2 separate regions of the Homo sapiens genome follow, and region 1 is linked to region 2. The links are contacts of gene promoters, found by promoter capture Hi-C in blood cells and fetal thymus (Javierre and others, 2016). All regions are on one chromosome and are shown on one strand. Each heading gives the region's core, a stretch centred on a gene start or on the middle of the fragment in contact. The rest is flanking DNA. Distances are from core to core; before and after follow the strand shown. Region 1 overlaps LOC124902265 (a long non-coding RNA gene). Region 2 holds the start of OR1L1 (olfactory receptor family 1 subfamily L member 1).

Region 1 (3,694 bases), core at 872-3,371, 38 kb before region 2:
TTCTGTATGATTCTGTATGATTCTTTAATGCCACTACGCATTTGTCCAGACTCACAGAATGTGCTAAACCAAGAGTGAATCCTAATGTAAAGTATGGATTCAGGGAGACAGTATGTCAATGTAGGGTCATCAATGTTAAGAAATATACCACTACTCTGGTGTGGAATGTTGATAGTGGAATAGACTATGTACATGAGAGAAAGAAGTATATGGCAGCTCTCTGTGTTTTTTGCTCAATTTTGCTGTGAACCTAAAGCTACTTTATTTATTATTATTTTTTGAGACAGGGTCTCACTCAGTCACCCAGGCTGGAGTACAGTGGCACAATCATAGCTCACTGCAGCCTCAATCTCCCAGGTCAAGCCATCCTCATACCTCAGTTTCCCAAGTAGCTGGGCCCACAGAGGCCCACCACCATGCATGGCTAATTTTTTTTTTATTATTATAGAGATGAGGTCTCACTATGTTGCCCAGGCTGATCTTGAACTCCTGGCCTCAAGTGATTCTCCTGTTTTGGGCTCCAAAAGTGCTGGAATTACAGGAATGAACCACCATGCCCAGCCCTAAAGCTACATTAAAATATTAATCTTATTTTAAAAAAATAAAATAAAAACCAAATGCATTTGCAGCAATAGCAGAAAAATCATGGTAAATCTCACAGTATGTGTCAGAAGGCATCCAAAGATATGTTTTTGAAAAATGTAAATATGACCAGCAGTTAAATAAAAGTAAGATGTATAAGCTTCTAGATATCTAGTGGGGGTAAAGATAACAAAAAATGTGAAATGCAATACAAATTATGAGAAAAAATGAGCTAAAATAAGATCATATACTGTCTGAGTAACCCCACATCTGGAAGTAATCCAAACTATGGAGGAAGTGTATATATTAATTGCAACACAAAGGAGACAACATTAATTTACAGAAGAAAACAAATAGTGGTGTACCCACTCAGTGTTTATTGTAGGAAGTTAAGAGATCACATCCCTGTTCCGCTCAGCTTCTAACCAACGGAGCAGACAAAAAGGGTCACATCAGGATCAAAGCTTTATTATAACAGTAAATCTGTCAGTTAGGGCTGCTATAACAAATTAACATAGACTAGGTGGCTTAAACAATATTTATTCCTTGCAGTTCTGGAAGCTGGAAGGTCCAAGATCAAGGTGCGGGCAGATCTAGTGTCTGGTGAGGGCAGGCTTCCTTGTTTTCAGATGGCCATCTTCTCATTGTATCCTCACACAGTGGAGCGCCAGAGAGACAGGATAAAGAAGCCCTCTCTGACCTCTTCTTGTAAGGGCACTAATTCCATTCATGAAGCCTCCACCCTCACAACCTGATTATCTCCCAAGGCTCCCACCTCCTAACACTATCACCTAGGAGGTTAAAGTTTCAACATATGGATCTTTGGGGGACCCAAACATTCAGTTCATAACAGAGTGACTCTTCTCTTCCTCCTCCCAATTGAGGATAGTTTCCCCTTAACCTTTCCTGTACCTGGACAGAGAGAGCAGAAGCGTGACTACTTACAGTCACATTAGTTCATACAGCCATGGTTCCCAATCCTGGCTTTGCACCTGGAGAGAATCAAAAATATCCCTGTCTGGGCCCACCTCTACTGATTCTGTATTAATTGGTCTGTAGTATGACCTGGGCATCAGTATACTTTTAGAGCTATCACATGTTTCTGATATGCTGTGGGATTGTTCTGTGCCACTCACACAGAAGATTGAAGCTCAGGGCTAGCCAGAATAAATGTAAAGATTACTAATTAGAAAAATTCCTCCTCTTCCTGTGTATAAGTGGTAGGTGAGGGTTAGACTAGAAATTTTCCTGCCAGTTTGTTTACTTCTGCACTGTGAGGTAAGATTGGTTCTCTTTATGGACACTTGAGGGTGAAGAATTAAATGGTTCCTACCACCAGGTATTTAGCAGCCATGAAAATTCTTATAACAGTGACACTGTAACACCATGGAAAATTATTTTGACATTATTTTAAACATTTTTGCAAAACTGTATGTAAATTGTTATTATGAAAATATGCATATGAATAAAATTTTTATATTCTAGTGGTAGGATAATTTTTTAATCAAATAAAGCACACTAAGACCCTGCTACTTACTCAATGTGTGGTCCACTGAGCAGCAACATTGGAATTACATGAAAAATTATTATTAGAAATAAAAGTTCCATGTAAAGTTTGAAAAGCACTGTGCTAGGAAATTGTCAAAAGAAGCAGAAGCAGAAGAAACAGAAGAGGGAGAGGAAGAAAAGGAAAGACAGAGAAGAGAAGAGAATAGAGGGGGCAGGGGCAGGATTCCAGGAAAATGTATAATTTGTTAAGAAATTAAAAAGGTATCTTTTTCACCAGTGCTGTACAAACTGTGAGCTTTTCCAGCAAAAAAGAACATAGTTGTCAATGGGTGCTTATGAATATTTGCACATGCTTTGTGACCAGCTGCTTTGGGAAATAATTAATAAATATATAACATAGCCTTTTCTCTCTTCAACAGTATAATCCAGTTTCAAAAATGATGCTGATGGACTTGAAAAATGGACCATAATCATAACAACTTTTCTCTGTTACTTAACAGTTTACAAAGCAAAATTGCATGCACAATGTTAGAAGCATAATTAACTTGTGAAGAAAGTAATGCAGGTATTATCATCTCTGGGAAAACCCAGGCTCACAGATGCAAGACCTCAATCAAAATGACACAATGAGGAAGTGATGGGATTGAGTTGAACAAAAGTGGATGAAGCCTGATGACTTCAAATCCAATGCACATGGGCTGCATATGTGCTGATTCATGCAGTACACTCTGTAAGATTAACACCATGAACAATGGAAGAGATTGACAGCAAGGAGGCCCATTTGTAATTTGCATAGGAAGTGATAAAGATCTAGATGAGGTAAAAGTTATGAGAATTGAATATAGTTCAATTTGGAGGGGAAATATGGAATACAAGCCACAGGTTAGTTGGAGACAGATGATCTGATCAAGGGTTAACTCCAAGCAAGTAAATTATTCTTTCTGTGCCTCATGGGGGTAATAACAGCAATTACTTCATCAGGTTGCTGAGAGACATAGTGAGTTAATATGTGGAGAGATCCTCAAACAGTGTCTGACACATAGTAAATGCTATATAAAAGCTATTACTACTACTCAGATGCAAGAGATTTTAGGAGGATTAATTGATAAGCTTCAAAACACATCACATTAAGCCAATGGTCTTGACTGTAGCTACGTATTAGAATCATTTGGGGAATATTTAAAAATACTGACACCTAAGCTTTACCTCATAGCAAGTGGATCCAAATCTCTAGAGTGGAGGCCCAGGAAACTGAATTTTTTAAAACTCCCAGGTGATTCTAACGCACAGTGAAAGTTGAAAAGCACCGATATAGACAGAGGAAGAATTAGGCTTGACTTATTGGAACCTTAGATATCAGTGGTGATAATGGCAATAAATGAAGAGCTGTGGAAATGAATCTACTGTGAGGATTTAATTTCCTAGATTTTCACTGTAAGGTGATATTAATTTGAAAAGAGAAGTGATATATTAAGAGTGGATGAGTTCTGTGACAGGATGAGACAAGCATAGGCAAGGTGCCGAAGACTTGAAGTAGAAGGAAGAGATGTCACACAAGGTACAGAAAAGATGGAGAGACATTAGAGGACAGCAATGGTACAAT
Region 2 (3,399 bases), core at 478-2,977:
CTGATGGCTTTCCTGAGTGAGAAGCAAGGGTCATACATAAGTAGACTTAAGGATGCTTCAGACAGAAGAGTAAAGATTCCAGGCCTAGGGTCTAAAGTCTTAACCCTATTGCTTATTATATTTTAAAGTTCTAAGAACAGTGTCTAGCAAGGGACTGCTTCTAACACTGGGAGATGGGAAAGTGACTAGTGGCATAAGATGTTCTAGTTGTTTTAGCTTGATGATCAACGAATTCCGAGAAAACGTTCTCCAACCCCACATTCTGTCTTTCAATGTAAGCAGCACAGCGGTGAGGCTCAGGAAGTCTGTCACTTGAGCCAGCCTCACACAGGTGGGGTCTTTTTCACCAAAAGGAGTTAGGTCAGGAGGGTGATTTCTGAGAGAGAGAGAAGGCACTGACACTCCCCAGGCTCCTTGGGGAAGAAACTCCAAAACCGTAATAGTTCTTGGCTTGTTTTCTGCTGTCTTCTCCATCTGAACTCCAGGGACTTCTTGATGATCTCAAAGGATGCTCCCTTGACAGAGGGTGGGGTCTATGAGTGTCTTTAATCTCTTCAGCATGTGGGAGGCCCAGAGGAGGAAGAGAGGAAAATCTTCAGCTTCATGAGGGTTGAAAGCTTGTCTAGAATCAGGTGCCTTCTCTGTGTGGTTTTTTGGGGAAGCATATATATAACTGAGACTGGAATTGGGAAAAGAATTACACCAACACAGACAAGCATGCACTAACAATGACGATTTTAGCATTTAGGGGCTGGATAACAAAAATGAGGTTTATGTTACATTAAAAGAAATGTTGGCCGGGTGCGGTGACTAATGCCTGTAATCCCACCACTTTGGAAGGCCAAGGTGGGCGGATCACTTGAGATCAGGAGTTCGTGACCAGCCTGGCCAACATGGTGAAACCCCATCTCTACTAAAAATACAAAAATTAGCTGGGTGTGGTGGCACAAGCCTGTAATCCCAGCTACTCAGGAGGCTAAGGGGGGAGAATCGCTTGAACCCAGGAGGCAGAGGTTGCAGTGAGCTAAGATTGTGCCACTGCACTCCAGCCTGGGTGACAAAGCAAGACCTTGTCTCAAAAAAAAAAAAATAAGGAAAAGAAATGTTTTTACTATCCTGTTATTTCTGTCTATCTTTTGCCTCTTCATACCTATCCTTTCACTCAAATAAGGTTTCACTAAAAAATGAGGGAAATGGAGTAACTGTTGGGTAATCTCATATTTCAATGTCTTTTTACATGATTGCCAGCCTCCAGAATAACTGATGCAGACAGAAGTATCCGAACTAAGGGAAATCATTATTCCATCAGCTGGAAATTGAGAGATGAAACTTTTTTAAACCTGTCATAAACTAATTACTGAAAACCGTGAATACGATAAATATATACAGAAAAAGAAGAGAATAATTTCTCCAGGATTCCCCTCCTCTCCTTCTGGGAATTCTCTTGCACTCACTCCTTCCTCTTGCCCTATATCTCTTCTTTTCTCTTTTTCCCATTTCTGTTTCCCTGTAATTTGTTTCTTTATAGCAGGCAACTGAGATTAAAATATATATTAATTTCTAAATATCCCACATTAATGGAAAGAAACCACAATCCAGATAATTGTAATGTTTTAAATTTTTTCTTTGCTGATAAGAAGAATAAAAGGAGAAATTTTGGACAGATTGTATCAGATGTTGGAAGAATCTGTTACAGTGTTAGTTTATCTTTAGGTGAACCCACAACTATGGGAAGAAATAACCTAACAAGACCCTCTGAATTCATCCTCCTTGGACTCTCCTCTCGACCTGAGGATCAGAAGCCGCTCTTTGCTGTGTTCCTCCCCATCTACCTTATCACAGTGATAGGAAACCTGCTTATCATCCTGGCCATCCGCTCAGACACTCGTCTCCAGACGCCCATGTACTTCTTTCTAAGCATCCTGTCTTTTGTTGACATTTGCTATGTGACAGTCATTATCCCTAAGATGCTGGTGAACTTCTTATCAGAGACAAAGACCATCTCTTACAGTGAGTGTCTGACCCAGATGTACTTTTTCTTAGCCTTTGGAAACACAGACAGTTACCTGCTAGCAGCCATGGCCATTGACCGCTATGTGGCCATATGTAATCCCTTCCACTACATCACCATTATGAGTCACAGATGCTGTGTCCTGCTTCTGGTTCTCTCCTTCTGCATTCCACATTTTCACTCCCTCCTGCACATTCTTCTGACTAATCAGCTCATCTTCTGTGCCTCAAATGTCATCCATCACTTTTTCTGCGATGATCAACCAGTGCTAAAATTGTCCTGTTCCTCCCATTTTGTCAAAGAAATCACAGTAATGACAGAAGGCTTGGCTGTCATAATGACCCCGTTTTCATGCATCATCATCTCTTATTTAAGAATCCTCATCACTGTTCTGAAGATTCCTTCAGCTGCTGGAAAGCGTAAAGCATTTTCTACCTGTGGCTCTCATCTCACAGTGGTGACCCTGTTTTATGGAAGCATTAGCTATCTCTATTTTCAGCCCCTGTCCAACTATACTGTCAAGGATCAAATAGCAACAATTATCTACACCGTACTGACTCCTATGCTAAATCCATTTATCTATAGTCTGAGGAACAAAGACATGAAGCAGGGTTTGGCAAAGTTGATGCACAGGATGAAATGTCAGTAAAAGACCTAAGGTCTTAAGAGAATACCACAGATCTCTTGCCCTGGACTATAGGTTATTAATGGGTATGTGATTCTGAAATGATTATTAGATTCTGAAAGGATAGTACCTTCAATGATGGTGTTTCATTCCTTACAGAAGAATGTTTATTGCATGTATTGAAGCTACTCCTGAATATAATGCCTACAAACTAAGTTGGATCACTGTAATCTCCTGAGTATCCCTATTCATGCAGCTGGGTTTTCTTGTATAGTAATGTAAAGCTGCTTGAATGTCTTTGAGCTACTCTGTGTGTGTGTGCGTGCGTGTGTGCATGTGTGTGTGTATGTGTGTGTGTGTCGCTTCATCATATTAGCCCAGGGGCTCCTCAATAACGAGGTCTCTCTCTTTCTCCCATTATAAATGTCAGAACTGTGACTCCTTCCTCTGCATTTCCTCAAAGATTAAAGCCTGGCTTCTATAGTTGTCATAGTCTCAACAAATAAAATCATCCCACTAGATAACTCTTAGTGAATCAGTGCCAGGTCAGGTTCCTAAGAGTATGGCATCTCAGTATTCTTCCTGCTTCCCACCTGGCAAAGCTGACTGTACCTTAAATCTCTCATTAATTTCATTTGACCCAAACTCAACTGCACTGTTTTCCCGGGAGGTATGTGTTAGGTCCCAGTAACCTTAGTAGCAGATGCCTCCAACTGCTGGGGCAGTTCTCTTCCTTAACAGACTTTGAAGACAGTCTTCCAAC

The links. The method cuts DNA at HindIII sites, captures the fragments that hold promoters and counts their contacts. A CHiCAGO score of 5 or more calls a contact.
Region 1: a contact is called between a fragment that was not itself captured here and the fragment with the promoter of OR1L1 in region 2, in 1 of 17 cell types (neutrophils). The highest score is 5.0, in neutrophils.

The regions. Positions count from the first base shown.
Region 1 is chr9:122,621,882-122,625,575 of GRCh38, forward strand. All of the region lies in intron 1 of LOC124902265 (a long non-coding RNA gene), which reads left to right. Among named protein-coding and RNA genes, the nearest start is that of OR1Q1, 9.0 kb to the left of the region's middle. The HindIII fragment of the contact is 2,155 bases long and covers 1,045-3,199 here.
Region 2 is chr9:122,659,989-122,663,387 of GRCh38, forward strand. OR1L1 (olfactory receptor family 1 subfamily L member 1) reads left to right here and starts at 1,728. Exons shown (of 1, transcript NM_001005236.3): 1 at 1,728-2,660. The coding sequence starts at 1,728. The coding sequence ends at 2,660. The HindIII fragment of the contact is 3,812 bases long and covers 616-3,399 here.